Linked DNA regions of Homo sapiens: regions 1 and 3 are each linked to region 2. The links are contacts of gene promoters, found by promoter capture Hi-C in blood cells and fetal thymus (Javierre and others, 2016). All regions are on one chromosome and are shown on one strand. Each heading gives the region's core, a stretch centred on a gene start or on the middle of the fragment in contact. The rest is flanking DNA. Distances are from core to core; before and after follow the strand shown. Region 1 holds the start of PTDSS2 (phosphatidylserine synthase 2). Region 2 holds the start of NLRP6 (NLR family pyrin domain containing 6). Region 3 has its middle 9.4 kb from the start of RNH1.

Region 1 (3,860 bases), core at 1,152-3,651, 170 kb before region 2:
TAGCATGAGACTCTCAAGGGAAGAATTCCGTGTCCCTCCCAGGACGCCAGGTCTGTTCAATGGCTCCTCCCACCCGCCTGCAGACTCTGCAGGACGGTGTATGTCCTGTGATCAGACACAGAACAGAGCTGTGATCAATCCTGGCAATTCAGCCACTTCACTAGGGTGAGGGCGTGAAGACAGCTGGCTCCCTGCCATGGGGAGTGGAAAAGACCCAGCTGCCTCCTTGGAGATGGTCACTCTCATGTCCACTCTCATGGTGGGCAGGGAGGCCGAGACCAAGAGGAAAACGCGGCGTCGTCGTCCAAAGGGCCAAGGAAAGGCCACGCCTGGATGGGCAGCCCAAGGCCTGCGAGAGGCTCCTGGACCGGGCACTGGCCCTTCTGGCTCTGACCAGCAAGACCAGAAAGACTTCATCTGGCTACTCGCGCCTCCCAGGTGTAGGCAAAGCTGGGAAAGCCCCGATCCAGGATGATGGAGAAAGGCATCTTCCAGAAACCTGGGGTATCTGAAGGTCAGAGGTCACCTCACACATAAAGTCCTCAGGTCACTGAGAAGGCTCATTTGAGGCACCCCATTCCAAGACACAAGCATACAATAAAAACTCTCAGAACATCACAGTGGCCCCCAGCTCGGGAACTGGTTAGCAAGTGTGGTCATCCGAAGCTGCTTCAGCGTCTCCCACAGACAGGCGGCAACGTTCACAGGCACCTCGCCAGGGTAAGGGGTCCCCAAGTGTTCTCCCAAACAATTTCCAGACCGCATGAGCTGCCACATCTTCGCACAGGGCTTCTCGGAGTCTGTGGATCTAAACGTTTTCCTCTGGATGTTCCCCATAATTGTCCTTGCTACCCTGAATGAATCCAGAGAAGGAGAGCTCAGCCTCGTGCTCCCAGGGCCAGTCAAGCCCTGAATCGAACCGCACGCCCTATCCCTATGGCTGACAAGCAGTCACAGAGAAACAAAATTCACACATGGCCGCCGTCACTGGCCCGAGGAAGTGCACCCATCCTTGAAAATGAACGCCCTGGCTGGATGTGGTGGTGCATGCCTGTAATCTCAGCAATCTGGGAGGCTGAGGCGGAAGGATCACTTGAGGCCAGGAGTTGAAGACCAGCCTGGGCAACACAGGGGGACCCTCTATTAAAAATAAATAAATAAATAAAAATGAATAAAAAATAAAAAGTAAAACTCTCTAAAACACAAAATTAGAGTTAAAAAAATGCCAGCACAGCAAGTCAGTGCAGGTGGACTCAGGAGGTCAGTGTGAGGCTCTGCAGGTAATGAATTCTCACCAGGCAGGCATTGAGTTACCTGCCACCCAGAAGCGTGAAGCTCCTTCCTCTGCACAGGGAAGGGAGGAGGCACAGCAAGAACCTGCCCCATGCGTCTCTACAGGGACAGGGTCGAGGGGAAAGCCAGAGCCAGAGCCACCCACCCAGAAGACCCAGGAAGGAGGTACCTGGACCAGCCAGCCCCGCTGCACCCGCTCCTGGAGAGCCCTCCTGACCCCCTTGGCCTCCTGACAGGCAAGCTCTGCTGCGCCCAGCCGTCTGTGTCCCAAACACCCCTTGTGGGCAGGGACCACTGGTCTGGGCTTCTAAAGAGACCGGCCCCCTCCTACCTTTGGGCTGCTGCTCCTGCTTCCCTGGTACTGGGTGGGCTGCGCAGGCTTGCATGTGCCCCCTGGCTCCTGCCACACTCAGCACCCAGCCAGCACATTTTGAGCCTTCTGAAGTTCCATGCCTGCACCAGAATCTAAGCTTCTTGTTTAGTTCTCTGCTATGTCCCGTAGAACGGTAACTGACAGGCAGTAGGGGTCCCCACAATGTGCTGAACGGCCAAATGAGAAACAAGAAGAGCCAGTCTGGTCTCCTCGCTCCGGGACCTCAGAGGAGCCCGTCTGTTCTCCTTGCTCCGGGATGTCAGAGGAGCCCGTCTGGTCTTCTTGCTCCGGGACCTCAGAAGAGCCAGTCTGGTCTCCTTGCTCCAGGACCTCAGAGACTCCGGTGGTCCCCAGCTGTGCTGCGGGAGGACAGCCTGAAGGGGTGTGGCAGGGCACCTGATGGAGAGGCCTGATGTCCACAGGGCCCGGAAGCCAGAGGGTCCACGTGGCAGGCACCCCATCTCCTCTCCCTCCCGAGGGCCCCGCAGCCACCCGGTACACTCATCTCCCCAAAGGAGAGCTCGGATGCCCTCCCTGCAACAGCAGCTGCCCACACCTCACGGAAGACCCTGCGTGGGGCCTCCTCCACCCTAACCTGCTTTCCCACCACTTGGACAGTCTCTCTCCAGAGCTTCGGCTGCGGTGACAGGCCAGGACCGGTTAAGTCCCTGTCTGTGGTGGCGCCTTCCCCTGACAAGTCCCTTACTCCTCCATCAGGCCCTCCTCGCCCCTCAGATTTGCTCTCCGACCATCCCACAGCATGGTTCTCTTGGAAGCGTCCATAAAGCCTTCCTTCCACTGCTGGCCGCAGGCGCCTGTCTCCCACACGTTTTCCTGGGGCTGACCCCACCTCTACTGCCCCTGTGCCCCCGGGCCTTCCACAGGATGGGAACTGGGCACCTTGCAGTCAAGAAGAGCCAAACCCTCCTCTCACGAAGCCTGCTTTCAGGTCGACGGCTTGATCCTTCTCACAGAGGAGCATCGGCAAAGGGCCAGCCCAGGGTCGCAGCTGTCGGGAGTAGGAGCGGCACCTGGAGCCTGTCTGGACACAGAGTGCCACACTCCAGCTGCTCCCGGGGGCCTCTTCCTTTTCCACCCCCATTAAAGGCAGAGTGGCGGACAGGGGGACCCCAAGGTGTAGCTAGGGCTGAGTTGTGCAGGGAGGAGGCGCTGGCCCCGCTAGGGGCAACTGAGGAGAGAAACAGAGCCTGGATTCGACGAACACCGACTACATTCCTGAAGCACGCACAACACTCTGCTAATCAACACGATCGCCACGTGGGGTCGGGCGCGACACACAAGATGATTTCGTGCAGCCGCAAGCACTGAGGAGCAACCACAGGCAGAATGACGGGGGACACAGGTGAAGCTTCGACAGCAGGACAGAGAAAGCGTTTCTGGGGTGACGCTGGAGGCGGGTGGCGGGGAAGGGGTCTGGATCGCAGAACCGCGCGGTCAGAGCCAAGGCGGGCAGGGGTGGGGAGGGCGGCGAGAGAGACGCAAAGCGGCCGCAGGGAGGGTCTGCCCAGGGTCTCCCCCACCTACAGCGCCGCCCTCCGCCCGACCCGGCGTCGGGAGCTCGGTCCGGCCGCTCCCCGGGACCCGGGGGGCGGTGCTGCCACACCCTCAAACCCCCGGCCACAGTCCTGGACTCCAAGACGGCGAGAGGGCGCTGCCGGGGACCCCCAGGCCAGCGGTGCCGGAACCCCCAGGTCGAGGGCACCCTCGCCGCCCCGCGGCCGCCCACTGCCCTCACCAGAAGAAGGTGTTGGTGCCGTCGTCGTAGACCTCGGACTCGGTGCTGCGGCGGCCCTCGCCCGGCCCGGTGGCTTGGCCGGCAGACGGCCCGTCAGGCGGCTCCTCCAGCGAGGCCCTGCCCGCGGGCACCGGGGACTCGGGCCGCGGACCTCCGGCGTCCCTGCGCTCGCCCCTCCGCATGGCGTTTCGGCCCGGAGCCACTCCGCCCGGCGCCTCGACCCCACGCACACCGGGTCACCGGCGAGAGGACGCGCCGCACACAGCGCGAGGAGCGCTGGGAAGGGGTCGCGGCGCTGGCCCGCGGGGTCTTAGGAGAGCAGCGCGGGGCCGGCCAGTAAAGGGTGTGCGGTGCATTGTGGGGCTTGTAGTCCGCGCGGGGCATGCTGGGCCTTGTGGTCCGACGTCGCGGGTTGGACGCAGTGCTTGCTGGGAAGGA
Region 2 (3,880 bases), core at 60-2,559:
GATAAAACGCGCGGGGGCCGGGGACCGCGCCGGGGCTTCTCCGGGAAGCGGGAAGGAGGGCAGCCCAGCCTCTGCCCAGACAGGAGGGACCTCCCGCGCAGAACTCACGCTGCAGCCGCCGCTCCTGGAGCTGCGCCGCCACGTCGCGCGCGTCCGCCCTCTTGAGGGTCTTGCGGGCCACCTCCAGGGCAGGCTCCGGGCCGTAGAACTGGGCCAGCTGCTCCGCGAGGTCCACGGCGTCCGCGCGCTCCAGCCGCCCCCACGGGATGCTGCGTCCGTCCGGGCCCACGTCGCGCAGCTTGTGGCGGAAGCGCTTCAGCTGCTCTTGGCTCAGTTCCTCCAGCGCAGCCAGGAGCAGCTCGCGGGCCACCGCGAGGCGCGGCCCCGTGCTGGAGGCGGGCGGGCGCGGGTCATCGGGGAGCGGCCCTCGGGTGACCCCCGCCCGCCCCCGACTCTGGCGCCGGAGAACCCACCGCGGGCAGGGCCTCAGGGAGTCCCGGGCCAAGCATCGTCTGGATCCATGGGGTGGCGGGAGGGGGCAACGGGGAGTGACCCCAGACTTTTCCCTCCCCCGTCCCCGGACCCGGGTCGGGGCGTCTTGGTGTTCTTCGCCCTCTGAGGGTGAAGTGGGCACTGGCCGCCGCTGATCTGAGCTCTGGGGGGCACCTTCCTCCCCTGCACCTCCCTTTCTGCTTCTGTCCTTCCACACCCCAGGACAGGTCACATGCCCCGAGGGAGGTATTTCCAAGGAACCCTGAGCTCTCTTTCCTCGCTTTCCTTCTTTTCCCTCTCTTCCCGATCCCGGAGCAGAACTGGCCTCTTTGGCAGCAGACACTGCCAGGCCCAGGCTGTATTCCTGGGCCCCCACCCCTGCCACACTTTGGTGGGGCCCAGCTTGGGGCCTTGCACCAGGGCCTGAATCTGAGCCCCTGGTGGGGAACAGACTCCACAAATGCCCTCTGTGGGGAGGCAGTGCTTGGCTCCTGAGCCTGGGAGTGAGGGTGGGGGAAGGATGTGGACAAGGGTGGAGAGCCTGAGGAAGTCAGCGGGTGAGGTGGAGGCCCCAGAGGGCTGAGACCAGCCGGTTCCCAGTGACCACCCTGGGGCCAGCACTCACCTGGAGCAGGGGGCCTCTGGCTGGTCCATGGGGTCTCTTCCTCCCTGGGTCTAGCACTCCGGGGCAGAGGTGGGGATCAGAGAGGTGATTCCTTCACAGGCTGAGCTGGAGCCAAGTCTTAGAGGTTGTCCAGCCCGGTCCATTCCCCGGGTCCACACACCGCAGCTCAGCTGGCACGAGATGCTGTTGGGCACCGTGGCACACGCAGAGCATTGCCCTTTAAGGGCTCCGTTTGGTGACCTTTGATTTTCTTACTCCTTTATCCCATTAATGTTCCCCAAGAACCCCTGGGTGTGGCATCGGGGCATGGCTGTGAGCAGGCAGCTTCAGAGCAAGGTGGGTTGTGTGAAGGAGGTGGCTGGCTCAGAGCCAGGCCTTCAGCTGAGGCCTGGGGAGAGGTTAGACTCTGAAGGCAGGGGTGAGGAAAGACTTCCAGGTAGAGGGAACAGGGGGGACAGCCAGCAGCACGCACCATATATGGGAGGGAAGGCAGTCTCCAGGGAGACGCCGGGCAGGGGTCTGCACTGCAGCCTCCCCACCCGACCTGAACAGCTGGCGGGCAGAGGCTGGACGTCAGGGGTGTTCGAGACCCCTGGGACCAAATGTGAGAGTGTGTGGAACGGGGGGGTTAATATGTGGAAATGAGAGGTGCTGGGTAAAATAAGGCTGAGACCTACTGGGCTGCATTCCCAGGAGGGTAGACATTCTAAGTCACAGGATGAGACAGGAGGTTGACACAAGATACAGGTCATAAAGGCCTTGCTGATAATGGTGTAAAGAAGCTGGCCCAAAACCACCAGAACCAAGATGGCAATGAGAGTGACCTCTGGTCATCCTCACAGCTCATTACTCTAGTTACAGTACATTAGCACACTAAAAGACACTCCCACCAACACGATGACAGTTTATAAATGCCATGGCAAAGTCAGGAAGTTACCCTATATGGTCTAAAAGGGGAGGAACCCTCAGTTCTGAGAATTGCCCACCACTTTCCTGGAAAACTCATGAATAATCCACTCCTCGTTTAGCATATAATCAAGAAATAACCATAAAAATGGGCAACCAGCAGCCTTTGGGGCTGCTCTGCCTATAGAATAGCCATTCTTTTATTCCTTTACTTTCTCAATAAACTTGCTCTCACTTTACTCTTTTTTTTTTTTTTTTTTTTTTCATGGAGTCTCGTTCTGTCGCCAGGCGGAGTGCAGTGGCACGATCTCGGCTCACTTCAAACTCCGCCTCCTGGGTTCAAGCAATTCTCCTGCCTCAGCCTCCTGAGTAGCTGGAATTACAGGCATGCACCACCATGCCTGGCTAATTTTTGTATTTTTAGTAGAGACGGGGTTTCACCATGTTGGTCAGGCTGGCCTTGAACTCTTGACCTTGTGATCTGCCTGCCTTGGACCTCCCAAAGTGCTGGGATTACTGGTGTGAGCGACCATGCCTGGCACTTTACTCTTTATGGATTTGACTCAAATTCTTTCTTGCATGAGATCCAAGAACCATGATGTCTGGATCAAGACCTCTTTCTGATAACAGTTTGGCTGTGTGTCCCCACCCAAATCTCATGTTGAATTGTAATTCCCAATGTTGGGGGAGAGACCTGGTGGCAGGTGATTGGATCATGAAGGTGGATTTCGTCCTTGCTGTTCTTGTAATAGTGAGTAAGTTCTCATGAGATCTGGTTGTTTGAAAGTGTGTAGCATGTCCCACTTTGCTCTCTCTGTCCTTTTGGCCACATGAATATTTGCCTGCTTCCCCTTTGCTTTCTGCCATGATTGTAAGTTTCCTGAGGCCTCCCCAGAAGCAAAAGTCTGTACAGCCCACAGAACCAGGAGCTAGTTAAACCTCTTTTCTTTATAAATTACCCTGTCTCAGGTATGTCTTTACAGCAATGTGAGAATAGACTAAGACAAATTATAACAAGTAAAGAGATTGAATTACTAATTACAGGGAAAAAAAACTTTCCCACAAAGAAAAGCTCTCAAGGGAATGCTTCCCAACTCATTCTCTGAGGCCTGTGACACTGATACCAAAACCAGGCAAACTCATCAGAAGAAAACTGTAAACCAATATCCTTCATGAATACAGGCATGAAAAATCCTTAACAAACTACTTCAGAAACAGAATCTATTAGCATATAAAAACAATTACAAACCATGACTAAGTGTGTTTTCTCTAAGGAGTGCAAGGTTGGTTTAACATCCAAAAATCAATTAATGTAACATATCATAGTAATACTTAAGAGGACAAAAACTGCTTGATCATCTCAATAGAGACAGAAAGAATAGTCTACATTTTCCAACACCTCTTCATGGTTAAAAACACTAAGCAAACTGGGAAGAATGGAAGGAGCTTCCCAATCAGAAAATCCCCCAATATTTGGAATAAACAATACACTTGCAAATAACACATGGGTCAAAAAACAAGTCAGAGGAATTAAAAATACGTTTAACCAAACTGGGCATAGTCCTAGCTACAGGACAGGCTTAAGTGGGAGGATTGCTAGAGTTCAAGACCATCTTTGGCAGGGTAATAAGACTTCTGTCTTTTAAAAGATAAAAAAGGCCAGGAAAGAGAGTAGGGGAACGGAGATGAAGGAGAAAATAATATATGTGTAAATATATTTATTAGCACTGAGCTATACACTTAAAATGGTAAAGATGACAAATAAAATTTTGTATTTTTATATAAATTAATATTTTTATTAAAAAATAGAGACTGAGTCTTGCTATATTGCCCAGGCTGTTCTCAAACTTTTGGCCT
Region 3 (3,942 bases), core at 1,033-3,532, 240 kb before region 2:
CCAAGTAATAAAGTGAACAGGCGGCCGGGCAGGGTGACTCACGTCTGTAATCCCAGCACTTTGGGAGGCGGAGGCGGCCGGATCACGAAGTCAGGAGTTGGAGACCAGCCTGGCCAAATGAAACCCCATCTCTACCAACAATACAAAAAAAATTTAAAAAGCTGACCTGGCGCGGTGGCTCACGCCTGTAATCCCAAGCACTTTGCGAGGCCGAGGCGGGTGGATCACGAGGTCAGGAGATCGAGACCATCCTGGCTAACACCATGAAACCCCGTCTCTACCAGAAATACAAAAAATTAGCTGGGCGTGGTGGCGGGCACCTGTAGTCCCAGCTACTCCTAAGGCTGAGGCAGGAGAATGGCGTGAACCCGGGAGGCGGAGCTTGCAGTGAGCTGAGATGGGCCACTGCACTCCAGCCTAGGCGACAGAGCGAGACTCCATCTCAAAAAAAAAAAAATTTTATTATTATTATTTTTTATTTATTGATCATTCTTGGGTGTTTCTCAGAGAGGGGGATGTGGCAGGGTCATAGGATAATAGTGGAGAGAAGGTCAGCAGATAAACACGTGAACAAAGGTCTCTGGTTTTCCTAGGCAGAGGTCCCTGCGGCCTTCCGCAGTGTTTGTGTCCCTGGGTAGTTGAGATTAGGGAATGGTGATGACTCTTAACGAGCATGCTGCCTCCAAGCATCTGTTTAACAAAGCACATCTGGCACCGCCCTTAATCCATTTAACCCTGAGTTGACACAGCACGTTTCAGAGAGCACGGGGTTGGGGGTAAGGTTATAGATTAACAGCATCCCAAGACAGAAGAATTTTTCTTAGTACAGAACAAAACGGAGTCTCCTATGTCTACTTCTTTCTACACAGACACAGTAACAATCTGACCTCTCTTTCTTTTCCCCACATTTCCCCCTTTTCTTTTTGACAAAACTGCCACTGTCATCATGGCCCGTTCTCGATGGTCGCTGTCTCTTTGGAGCTGTTGGGTACACTTCCCAGACGGGGCGGCCTGGCAGAGGCACTCCTCACCTCCCAGACGGGGTGGCCGGGCAGAGGTGCTCCTCACCCCCCAGATGGGACGGCCGGGCAGAGGCGCCCACTTCCCAGACGGGGCAGTCGGGCAGAGGCGCTCCCCACCTTCCAGATAAGGCGGTGGCTGGGCAGAGGTGCCCCTCACTTCCCAGGTGGGGCGGTCGGGCAGAGGCACCCCTCAACTCCCAGACGGGGCAGCCAGGCAGAGGCGCCCCCCACCTCCCAGACGGGGCAGCTGGGCAGAGGCGCCCACTTCCCAGACCGGGCGGCCGGGCAGAGGCGCTCCTCACCTCCCAGACGATGGGCGGCCGGGCAGAGATGCTCCTCACCTCCCAGACGGGGTGGCGGCCGGGCAGAGGCTGTAATCTTAGCACTTTGGGAGGCCAAGGCAGGCAGCTGGAAGGTAGAGGTTGTGGCGAGCTGAGATCACGCCACTGCGCTCCAGCCTTGGCAACACTGAGCATTGAGTGAGCAAGACTCCGTCTGCAATCCCAGCACCCCGGGAGGCCGAGGCGGGCAGACCATTGGAGGTCAGGAGCCGGAGACCAGCCCGGTCAACAGGGCAAAACCCCGTCTCCTCCAAAAATACAAAAACCAGTCAGGCGTGGCGGTGCATGCCTGCAATCCCAGGCACTTGGCAGGCCGAGGCAGGAGAACCATGGGAGCCCGGGGCAGGGAGGCTGCAGCAAGCCGAGACCACAGCAGTACAGTCCAGCCTCGGCAACAGAGGGAGACCGAAGGGAGAGGGAGAGGGAGAGGGAGAAAAAAATAATTAAAAAGCTTTATAAGCCTGCTGGATTCTGTCAAATGCCTTTTCTAAGTCTACTGAAATGATGATGTATTTTTGTCTTATTTTATTTATTTAGAGACCAGGTCTCACTATGTTGCTCAGAATCCTCCTGCTTCAGCCTCCCAAAGTGCTGGGATCACAGATGTGAGCCACCACGTCCGGCCGTCTTTTTGTCTTTTAATCTGCTTATATGGTGAATTCCATTGGCTCATATTTCATGTTGAACCAGCCTTGCATTCCTGTGATAAATTTCACTGCGTCATGGTGTGCACTTATATTTGTATTATACATATATGTGTGCTCATGGGCCTGTGTTTCAGTGTGTGGCAATGCTGTGGGCCTACAATCATCAAAACAGCTCTGGAAAACAATGGTCAAGTGAGAGGGCATTCTATGCCTGGCTTCAAGATTTGGGTTTTTTTTTTTTTGAGATGGAGGCTCGCTCTGTCACTCAGGCTGGAGTGCAGTGGTACGATCTCAGCTCACTGCAGCCTCCGCCTCTGGGGCTCAAGTGATTCTTGTACCTCAGCCTCCCGAGTAGCTGGGATTACAGGCGTGTACCACCATGCCTGGCTAGTTTTTGTATTTTTGGTAGAGACGGGTTTCGCCATGTTGGCCAGGCTGGTCTTGAACTCCTGGCCTCAAGTGATCCACCCACCTCGGCCTCCCAAAGTGCTAGGATTACAGGCGTGAACCTTTGCACCTGGCCCAAGATGTGTTATAAAGGTTCAGAAATCCAGACAGTGTGGCATTGGTAACAGGATAGACAAATAGATCAGTGGAACAGAATAGAGGATCGAGAGTAGACCCTCACATACATGCTCAACTGATTTTGAAATAAGTGTAAGCAAATTCAGCAGAGAAAGGAGAATCTTAGCAACAAATGGTACTAGAATGACGGGGCTACACATATGAATGGAAGCTTCAATCTATACATGACAGTACATATATAAATCCATTCAAAATTTACTATTAATTTTTTTGAGATGGAGTCTCACTCTCTCGCCCAGGTTGGAGGGCAGTGGCACAATCTTGACTCACTGCAACCTCTGTCTCCCAGGTTCAAGTGATTCTCCTGCCTCAGCCTCTGGAGTAGCTGGGATTACAGGTGCCCGCCACCACACCTGGCTACTTTTTGTATTTTTAGTAGAGACGGGGTTTCACCATGTTGGCCAGGCTTGTGTCAAACTCCTGACCTCTGGTGATCCACCCGCCTTGGCCTCTCAAAGTGCCAGGATTACAGGTGTGAGCACTGTGCCTGGCCTCAGAACTTATTATAAGCCAAAATGTAAGGCCTACAACTGTAAAATGTGCGTTAAGAATGAAAAGGAGGATGTCAGTGTGACTTGGGTTAGAGAAATGATTCTTAAACACTAAAAGCATGACACATAAAGGAAAACCTGATCCACTGGACATCATGAGAATGAAGGGTGTGTGCATTTTGAAAGGCCCTGAGAAGACAAGCCCAGGCTGGCAGAGGCATTAGCAAATATCCCGTCTGAGGAAGGACTCATCTGCAGCATCTATGACAAGCTCCCAGGAGTCATGGGGTGCTGTGCTCTCGGCAGATATGGGAGAGCCTCCCATCCCATCATTCGTGTCTCCGGAGCAGCACTGCTCAAAGTCCCCTACCAATGCCCTCCTCAGCCGACAGACCTGACCCTCCCCACATGTGCACCCACAGGCCAGGCCTTGTGGGTCTTCTTGGGACATGACCCCAACTTCAGGAGGAGGAAAGTAAGAAGAGGAAAATCAATGAAAAGAAAAAAGAATTTACTGGTGGCCCTTTCAAGTCTTTCTGTCAAACGGCCCAATTTCAGGTTCAGCCAGGCAGTGGTGACAAGGCAGCCCTGTGTTCTGCCCAGTTCCAAGGGCTCCACCGCCTCTGTGGGTGAGAAGCAGCAACCAGCCGGGGAGAAAACCATCTAGCTGCGTCAACCTCGGTAGTGCTGGAAGTTAGCACAGGCGGGCCTGGGTTACCACGGTTCAGTTCTAGACACCGCAATAACACAAATGTCGCAATAAAGCCAGTCGGAGGGATTTTTCGGTTTTCCACTGCATATAAAAGTTATGTTTATACCACAGTGCAGTCAGGTGTGCAATAACATTATGTTTACA

Evidence for each region. Contacts are between HindIII fragments. The CHiCAGO score rates a contact against its expected background, and 5 or more counts as called.
Region 1: a fragment that was not itself captured here is called in contact with the fragment with the promoter of NLRP6 in region 2 in 8 of 17 cell types (total CD8 T cells, total CD4 T cells, naive CD4 T cells and 5 more); the score reaches 11.8 in total CD8 T cells.
Region 3: a contact is called between a fragment that was not itself captured here and the fragment with the promoter of NLRP6 in region 2, in 3 of 17 cell types (total CD8 T cells, erythroblasts and endothelial precursors). The highest score is 5.6, in total CD8 T cells.

The regions. Positions count from the first base shown.
Region 1 is chr11:450,200-454,059 of GRCh38, reverse strand. It overlaps PTDSS2 (phosphatidylserine synthase 2), which reads right to left and starts at 3,781. Exons shown (of 12, transcript NM_030783.3): 1 at 3,423-3,781. The coding sequence starts at 3,604. RefSeq lists silencers at 3,097-3,186, 3,197-3,256, 3,447-3,686 and enhancers at 3,717-3,860, 3,595-3,860. The HindIII fragment of the contact is 1,272 bases long and covers 1,766-3,037 here.
Region 2 is chr11:275,836-279,715 of GRCh38, reverse strand. It overlaps NLRP6 (NLR family pyrin domain containing 6), which reads right to left and starts at 1,309. Exons shown (of 8, transcript NM_001276700.2): 1 at 1,118-1,309; 2 at 109-389. The coding sequence starts at 1,146. RefSeq lists an enhancer at 1-9. The HindIII fragment of the contact is 27,921 bases long and covers 1-3,880 here.
Region 3 is chr11:514,703-518,644 of GRCh38, reverse strand. It overlaps a transcript of LRRC56 not described here. Among named protein-coding and RNA genes, the nearest start is that of RNH1, 9.4 kb to the right of the region's middle. The HindIII fragment of the contact is 932 bases long and covers 1,817-2,748 here.